2 separate regions of the Homo sapiens genome follow, and region 2 is linked to region 1. Evidence: promoter capture Hi-C in 16 types of primary human blood cells and fetal thymus (Javierre and others, 2016). All regions are on one chromosome and are shown on one strand. Each heading gives the region's core, a stretch centred on a gene start or on the middle of the fragment in contact. The rest is flanking DNA. Distances are from core to core; before and after follow the strand shown.

Region 1 (4,118 bases), core at 1,149-3,648:
CTGGTCTTGAACTCCTGACCTTAGGTGATCTGCCCTCCTCGGCCTCCCCAAGTGCTGGGATTACAGGCGTTAGCCACCGCACCCGGCCATCTTATTTTTATTTTTTGAAGAGATGGAGTCTTGCTCTGTCACTCAGGGTGGAGTACAGCAGTGCAATCATGGCTCACTGAAGCCTCAACCTCCTAGGCACATGTAATCCTCCGACTTCAGCTTCCAGAGTAGCTAGGACTACAGGCACATGCCACAATGCCCAGCTGATTTTTTTTTGAGACGGAATCTCGTTCTGTCACCCAGGCTGGAGTGCAGTGGCGTGATCTCGGCTCACTGCAACCTCGGCCTCCCGGATTCAAGCAATTCTTCTGCCTCAGCCTCTCAAGTAGCTGGGATTACAGGCATGTGCCACCATGCCCGGCTAATATTTTTGTACTTTTAGTAGAGACAAGGTTTCACCATATTGGCCAGGCTGGTCTCAAACTCCTGACCCTCTGATCCACCCACCTCGACCTCCCAAAGTGCTGGGACTACAGGCGTGAGACACCGCGCCCGGCCTGCCCAGCTAATTTTTGTATTCTTTATTTTATTTTATTTTTTGTGGAAACAGGATCTCGCTATGTTGCTCAGGCTGGTCTGGAACTCCTGGACTCAAGCAATCCTCCCACCTTGGCCTCCCAAAGTGCTGGGATTACCAGCATGAGCCGCTGCATCCAGCCAAGATTTTCTTCCTAAGGCTGAATGATATTCTATTGTATATGACACATTTTGTTTATCCATCTATCAATGGACACTGGGGTTACCTCTCCCTTTTGACTATTGCAAATAATGCTGCTATGAACATGACTGTACAAGTAACTGAGTCCCCGCTTTCATTTCTCTTGGATTCAGACCCAGAAGTGGTACTGCTGGATCATATGGCAATTCTATTTGTTAATTTTTTGAGGGAACTGCCATACTGTTTTCCATAGCTGCTGTACCATTTTACATTCTTACCAACAATACACAAGGGTATATTTCTTAATATATGGGGGCTGGGTGCAGTGGCTCACGCCTGTAATCCCAGCACTTTGGGGGGCTGAGGCAGGTGGATCACCTGAGGTCAATAATTCGAGACCAGCCTGGCCAACAAGGCAAAACCCTGTCTCTACTAAAAATACAAAAATTAGCCGGGTGTGGTGGCACGTGCCTGTAACCCTCGTCACTTGGGAGGCTGAGGCAGGAGAATTGCTTGAAGCCAGGAGGTGGAGGTTTCAGTGAGCCAAAATCACGCCACTGCACTCCAGCCTGGGCGACAGAGGGAGACTCCACCTCAAAATATATATATATATGGAACCTAAGACAAAAGCCTGCACTCACCCCTAATCTGCTAAATTCAAGTTCTCTCCATGATGAGGTTTCAAAAGGAATTAGTGCAAAATGTATTTAAGGATATGACCAGAAAGGAGAAAGAAAAAACAAATGGCTATTACACACACAGCAGAAAAGTAACACTAGGAGGCAAAGGAACTCAATGAAGAAATATTTCGGTGGCAGGCGGTGGTTCAGCCTGTAATCCCCGCACTTTGGAAAGCTAAAGCAGGAGAATCACTTGAGCCCAGGAGTTCAAGACCAGCCTGAGCAACATAGTGATACCCCTGTTTCTATTTATAAATAAATAAATAAATAAATATTTCCAACCAAAGAATACAAACTTAGTAAAGCTAATGAAGGAAGAACACAGTGAAGAGCTGCCGATGTAAGAGAAAAAAAGAAAATTTCCGGAGGAAAAAAGTTCAAAGATTTGCAACTATTTCCTCAGAAGGAACTGGGAAAAGGGAGTTTTGAGTAATAAGGCCTTGTGCAAGTTTCTGACTCTTAAGGATGTGAATGTACTGCCTTAAAAAATAAACTAAAAAGAGCCTCTTTTCTCACCACAACTCAACAATCATGAAGGTATCCTTGCAAGTGTGTGTAGACCTCTCATGCCTCCTAGGTCCAGGGTCACTCGTCCAGGACTCTCCCAATATCCCTGCCCAGAGGAAGCGCTTCCTCAGACTCGGTTCCTTCTGGTTGCCCTTGTCTCGCTTCTCTAGGGTGGGCTGGCCGCTCCCGCACTGGGGTCAAAGATCCTCCGGGTTCTCTCTGCCACGACTCGCCCTGATCCCAAATCCCAGCCCCACGGTCCCCACCCCCAGCGGGCCCAGTCCCCGCTCGATCCTGGGTGTGCGGCCCTCGACCTCAGACCCGGCCCCTGCCCGCCGGCCGCCCCTCACCTCGGCCTCGGAGGCTCCACGCTCCCCCTCTCACAGCCCGCACCTCGGCGGTCTCTCGGAGGAGGGAGGAACCCGAGGTACCTGGTAGTCGTAGCTGAGGAACTTACAGGCTTGTTGACCATCTCACCATGGAAACTGCCGCAGCGCTCCCTGGGCGGGGCCGCCGAGGGGCGGGGCCTGCGCGAATCCCGGGCGCCCGCCAGTCCAGCGCTCCCTGCGCTTCCGGAAGCCTTGCTGCTCCCGCGTGCCTAGCGGGGGCTCGGCCCTATGCCACGGGCATCCCACCCTGCTACCAGCTGCCCTCTTGTCCGCTGGCCGGACTCTTACCCCAGCCTTCTTCAGGAAGACACGGCGCAGTCCGGCTTCCCCACGAAAGCGAAGGTCGCTGGGACCGCGGCTGGGCGTCCGGGGGCGGGGCCGCGACGCCATTGTGACGCGCTCGGAGCAGGGCTGGGCCGAGGACCCCGGGCGCTGGAGGGCAGGCCCTAGCCACTGCTCCTGAGGCCCTGGAGGCAGCTGACGCTTGAGGCCGCTGGGCGCCGCAACGTGAGCCCAAAGGACGCCCCGCTTCAAGACTGGCGCAAGAGGAAAAAATGAAGGTCGTTTTCTGCGGAGGATGTTAGGAGAACGAGAACTGCGGGCCAGAGAACTGACCTAGCTTAAGGAGCGCAGGCAGCCTCTGCCGCCGGCTCTTGGGGAGACACGGAGAGGATGGGGTCCCCGCTCCGCATCAGGTCCTCTGACGCACCCCGGCTTTCCAGGAGGTAGGACTGGCCACAGGCCTCCTTCCCAGGGACAAAGTGCAAAGCAGAGGCTGTCAGCAGCGTGACCTTCGCTGCAGGAGAAATACGCGTCCAGTTCGTTTTCGTCAGAGTTCTGCTACATCAGGCCTGCCGTATTTGCTGTACACAAATCAGCCAACTTCCCAGGCCTGGGTGCGGAGGTATTTGTTAAGCACATGCACACAGTTGGAATTAGCAGCCTCAGGGATCAAAAGTTGTCCTTTTTTTTTTTTTTTTTTTTGGAGACGAAGTTTCGCTCTTGTTGCCCAGGCTGGAGTGCAGTGGCGCGATCTTGGCTCACTGCAACCTCCGCCTCCCGAGTTCAAGTGATTCTCCTACCTCAGGCTCCCGAGTAGCTGGGATTACAGTCGTCCGCCACCACGCCCGGTTAATTTTTTTTGTTTTTAGTAGAGATGGGGTTTCACCATTTTGGCCAGGCTGGTGTCGAACTCTTTTTTTTTTTTTTTTTTTTTTTTTTTGAGACGGAGTCTCGCTCTGTCACCCAGGGTGGAGTGCAGTGGCGCGATCTCAGCTCACTGCAAGCTCCGCCTCCCAGGGTCACGCCATTGTCTTGCCTCAGCCTCCCGAGTAGCTGGGACTACAGGCGCCCGCCACCACGCCCGGCTAATTTTTTGTATTTTTAGTAGAGACGGGGTTTCACCGTGTTAGCCAGGTTGGTCTTGATCTCCTGACCTCGTGATCCGCCCGTCTCGGCCTCCCAAAGTGCTGGGATTACAGGCATGAGCCACCGTGCCCGGCCTGGTGTCGAACTCTTGACCTCAGGTGATCCACTGGCCTCGGCCTCCCAAAGTGGTAGGATTACAGGCGTGAGCCACCGCGCCCCTGCCCAAGAGTTGTCATTTCTGTAGCAAAGCAGCTAAGCAATATTCTTTTGCCTGCCACCTAAATGTGATTAGGTGCAGCATCATTAAGAAAAAAAATAAAAAGCCCGGGCGTGGTGGCTTACGCCTGTAATCCTAACACATTGGGAGGCCAAGGCGGGTGGATCACCTGAGATCAGGAGTTTAAGATCAGTCTGGCCTACATGGTGAAACTCCAACTCTACTAAAAATTCAAAATTAGCTGGGTG
Region 2 (4,511 bases), core at 371-2,870, 650 kb after region 1:
CTACCCAGATGAATAAAAGTGCTCAAAAAGGGAAAATTCTGACTGCACAGACTCCATGATAACCATGATCCTGCTGTTCAGCTGCAGGCCCAATGTCTTTGCCTCTATCAAAACTTCCCGTATTCCCACTAGAGCTACAAACATCCTCAAACATAATGCAACAGAATATTCATAACAATAATTACTTCTAAATTAAGGTAAAAATAAAACAGTCAAGAAAATATGGGCTGGGCACAGTAGCTCTCGCCTGTAGTCCCAGCAACTTGGGAGGCCAAGGCAGGCGGATCCCTTGAGCCCAGGAGTTTTGAGACCAGCCTGGGCCATATGGGGAAACCCCATCTCTACAGAAAAAAAAAAAAAAGGAAAAAAAAGAAAAATTAGCCAGGCGTGGTGGCATACACTACTCAGGAGGCTAAGGTAGGAGGAATGCTTGAACCTGGGAGGTAGAGGCTGCAGTGAGCCGTAATCACACCACTGCACTCCAGCCTGTACCACAGAGTAAGACTCTGTCTCAAAAAAGGGAAAAGAAAATATGGATGCTCCAAAGATAAAGAAAAGCCTCAATCCAACTATATTATTGCAATAACAAGAGATTTCAGAGTGTACATTGCCATTCTACCACTGGAAGTTTGTTTCATTTTCCCTCAAACTCGGAAAGGTCACCATCTCCCAAAGCAGACAATTCTCACAGGAAAAAGAGAAAACTCGCACTTCCACCAGAATGTGGCTTCATAAGGCAAGCATATGCACCTGGCACATAGGAGGTGCGTGCTATCTGTTAAATGATGTGTTCACGGTGACTAGGCCTGCTAGGCCCTTCCAAGGAACATGTTTGGCAAAGCCAAAGAGCAGTCAGGATAAGACATAGTGAACATTATCATTTCTCATACAAAAAATGGAGGAGGAAACCAGGAAGAAAAGGAAAGCATCACCTTAAGAGGCTGGACCACACATCCTTCTACACGGAGGAAGAGGACTGTGGCTGGTGTCGCAATCGAGCAGCAAAGCTTGATTTTCCAGCCCGAGTGCTGGGTTCGAGTATCTTCCTGCCTTGGAACCTCCCAGAGTGCTGGGAGGAAATGTGAACATTATCACATCCTTATCTCTGGGAACTTACCCTTTTCTGAAGCTATAGCCAACTTAGTAATACTAAGTATAAGAGAAGTCCCATGATATGACAATATTTAACATGTTCCACTCAAGAAAACAACAAACGCATGCATGTCCCTCAGATGACAACAGCCACGCCAACTCTGTGTCTGTGGTGGCATCTCCTACCTGACACAATCGTCACAGGGCCTCTGATCTCAGTCAACTTCTGCCGGGTAAAGTTCCGAATGAGGCATTGTATCAAAGTGCTCTTTCCAACTTTTGGAGGTCCCATCACCACTACCACTATTGGTGGGGGCTCTAGTGGAGTTCGATCAACCACTGGAATATGATGCTTTTTTGTCTTCAAATCCTGAGTCCTATTCATTAAAAAATAAACAAATAAATAAATAGTAAACTCATTTTCAAAATAGAGTAAAAGGTATCAACCTTATAAGTAGACTTTTTTGGTACACTTATAGCTATGAGTACTTTAGCACATTTTATAGAGAGTACAACAGACAATATATAAATATAATTAACTTGTCAATTATTAACTTGCTAACTTCTGGCCCCATCCAAATAATTGCTGTTCAATAAAGATGTAACAAGATGACTTCAATACTATAGAGAGCGAAAATTAAACACTCCTTAAATCTGACTGTTTTAAGAGTGATTTTAATAGTTTTTTAAAAAACCAAAAGGTAAATAGCGAGGCAGTACATCATAGCAGATAAGAGCAGAGGCGCTGGAGTTACATTTAGCTCTCCTACTTACTGGTTATATGATTGGAGGTAACTTGTTTTCTTGATCTCAGTTTTCTTACCCATAAAATGAGGGCAAGAATGATTCCTACTCTGGTAAGGCTGCTGGAAGGATTTAGTTGAATAATGTTTAAAGTACACTGCTAGGCATATCACAAGGGCTCACTAAATAAAGCTATGTTAGTATTAAATATTGTAATTTTTGTATTTTATATTACAACTATGTAAAACATACCTGGGGGGAAAAAGCACACTTATCACCATAGAAACAGTTTAAAATTTAGGAACAAACAAAGTCTATAAATTCTTGTATCCTGGGCAATAAACACTAACCAGTATGCAGATGCTGGAGGCAAGGCAGCTTCTATGGGAAAAGCTTCTCACGTTTTAGTGAAAGCCACACACCATGAATCTCCATGTCCTTTGGAGCTGGACTAGACTCGTGAATCCAAATGTCACCTGTGAGAGGCTCCTACTATTTAAAAAAAGAATCAATGGAAGAATGACCAGACCGTAGCCTAACATACCTGTGAAAGGATCGAGCCATCCGCACAGCAGACTGAACTGCAAAAGCTTTGGGATTTCTCTTCCGGGCATCTTCTTCGTCTCCTAGCTGGAGATCCTGCAGAAGCCGCTTCTTTTTCTTTGCAGCTTTGGGTCCACTGTTTTTCTTTCTGTGTTTCTTCTGGTCCTTAGCCTCCATAGTGGCTATTTACCAATAACAAGTAACTCTAACCTACAAGGAAGAAGGTTGGGGTAAGGAGATGGGAGAAGCATTTTACAATCCAGGCAATACCCAGGGAAAAACAGTAAATTTCATTTATTTCTTTATGAAGAGATGATGTATTTGTTCACTGAACAAGGGTAGAAACTGCTTAACCATCCCCAATTTCATTTCTCTCTGTTATGCTATAAATTAGATGAGTTACCTCTCTTAAGATTACATTTTATGGTTAAGTTACTTTTTATTCATCTTAAGTGTCAACATCAGCAGTATCTATTTCTGCAAGGATAGAAATATACTATATCTGTACTTTTCAGCCATTTAGCCATTAGCCACATGTGGTTACTTACAATATACTTAGGGAAACTGAAAAAATGAGTTTTTAATTAATTTCATTCTAACTCCAAATAGTCACATGTGGCTACCATACTGGACAGCTCAGACCCAGGTATCAACTGGACTGATGAAGTGGTTTCCTAACTTAAACTAAAACTTAAATTTTAATAAAAAAATGTGAAACGTTTTTATGAACCTCCAATATGATCGCAGTATTACTTTTAGTACCTGTTGACTCTGTAAAACTCCTAAATTACAACTTATCTACATACATTTGAAAAATAGAAATAGCTGTACGTGTGAGATAGGACTGGTTCTAGATGACACCTGGAGACCCCATGAACTTACAGAGACCCTTCCAGTGATTTCTGAGTTACCTGGGAATCTGTGGCTAATAAATTGGCAATCACTGAATTAGTGAGTTATTTTAGGAAATCGGGCTGCATAAAATCTGACAGCTTGATTAAAAAAAAAAAGCGGAGCAGGATGCCATTTCATTCAATTAAGGTACTGTATTCATTCCGTTGAATAAATATTTGTGTCTGTCTACGATGTGCTAGGCACTGTGCCAGTAAGTGGATACAGCTATTATCTGACTTGCAGAGGAAATCCAAACTATTATCTTCCGCGCCACGCAATAAGGGCGACATTGGAAGGCTGCACAGGGTGCTACTGGAGCACGGAGGTGAGTCAGAGGCTTCCCACAGACACACACCAGCGGAAACAAAGTCTTTATGTATTACCATAATGTCAAGAACACTGGCCAGGAGTTAGGAGAGCTGGGCGCTAGGAACGCTTTGAAACCGAATAGCTGTGTGATTTCAGAGATTATGTTTCTTCTCTGCTATATTTTAGTTCAGCACTTGTACTAATGTTTCTCTCCCTGTCTTTCTTCTTGGTGGGAAAAGCACAATTTGGGGTCAACAGATCCAGCTCAGGTCTAAGTCTCCTACCGGGACCACGTCGCCAGGAAACGACGTCGCCCAGCCACCTTCCCTCCCCGTCTGGGCTCTCTGCAGGGATTCATCACGTCACTCACCCAACTACCCCAGGACACCTCCGCCAGATGAGAAATATGCCGCTCCTCGGGAGCAAAGATGACCCGGAGGACCGGGGGAGGACCTTCCCACACGCACGACTCGCGATCTTCCCAGTGCCCCAGAACCAGGGACCCCACCGCCGCCTACCCCAACCCGCAGCACCGAACCTGCTCGCAGCCGCGACTCCTCAGGTCAGCATGGACACCGCCGGAAACGGAAATTCACAGTCGCGCTGACTCGCCGGAGGGAAACAAGAAGGCAGAAAAAAGAGACCGGCATGGGGACGGCTTTCAGGGGAGAGCCTGAAGAAAGAGGGCTGAACAGCTGAGTGCGGACGCAGGCGCCGTCCGCGCAGTGCGTTCCACCGGGTCCAGGTCCTTCCAGATTCCTCTCCACCCCGCCCTCGGAATCCGCGGCCTCAACTTCCGCGGTGGGACTCCGGAGCAGCGTGCGCCGCGCTCGCCTGAGTTCTCGCCGAAGGCCAGGGCGGCTCTGCGGCCTGGCGCCGGTTAGTTAGTGTGGTGCAAAAGCCGGAAGGAGACACATTTGGTCCTGGCC

The links. Contacts are between HindIII fragments. The CHiCAGO score rates a contact against its expected background, and 5 or more counts as called.
Region 2: a fragment that was not itself captured here is called in contact with the fragment with the promoter of ZNF487 in region 1 in 1 of 17 cell types (total B cells); the score reaches 5.0 in total B cells.

The regions. Positions count from the first base shown.
Region 1 is chr10:43,435,391-43,439,508 of GRCh38, reverse strand. It overlaps ZNF487 (zinc finger protein 487), which reads right to left and starts at 2,398. Exons shown (of 4, transcript NM_001355444.3): 1 at 2,247-2,398. RefSeq lists a silencer at 2,114-2,773 and an enhancer at 2,874-2,943. The HindIII fragment of the contact is 37,036 bases long and covers 1-4,118 here.
Region 2 is chr10:42,782,440-42,786,950 of GRCh38, reverse strand. It overlaps BMS1 (BMS1 ribosome biogenesis factor), which reads right to left and starts at 4,156. Exons shown (of 23, transcript NM_014753.4): 1 at 4,121-4,156; 2 at 2,381-2,589; 3 at 1,279-1,469. The coding sequence starts at 2,556. RefSeq lists an enhancer at 3,976-4,325. The HindIII fragment of the contact is 1,222 bases long and covers 1,010-2,231 here.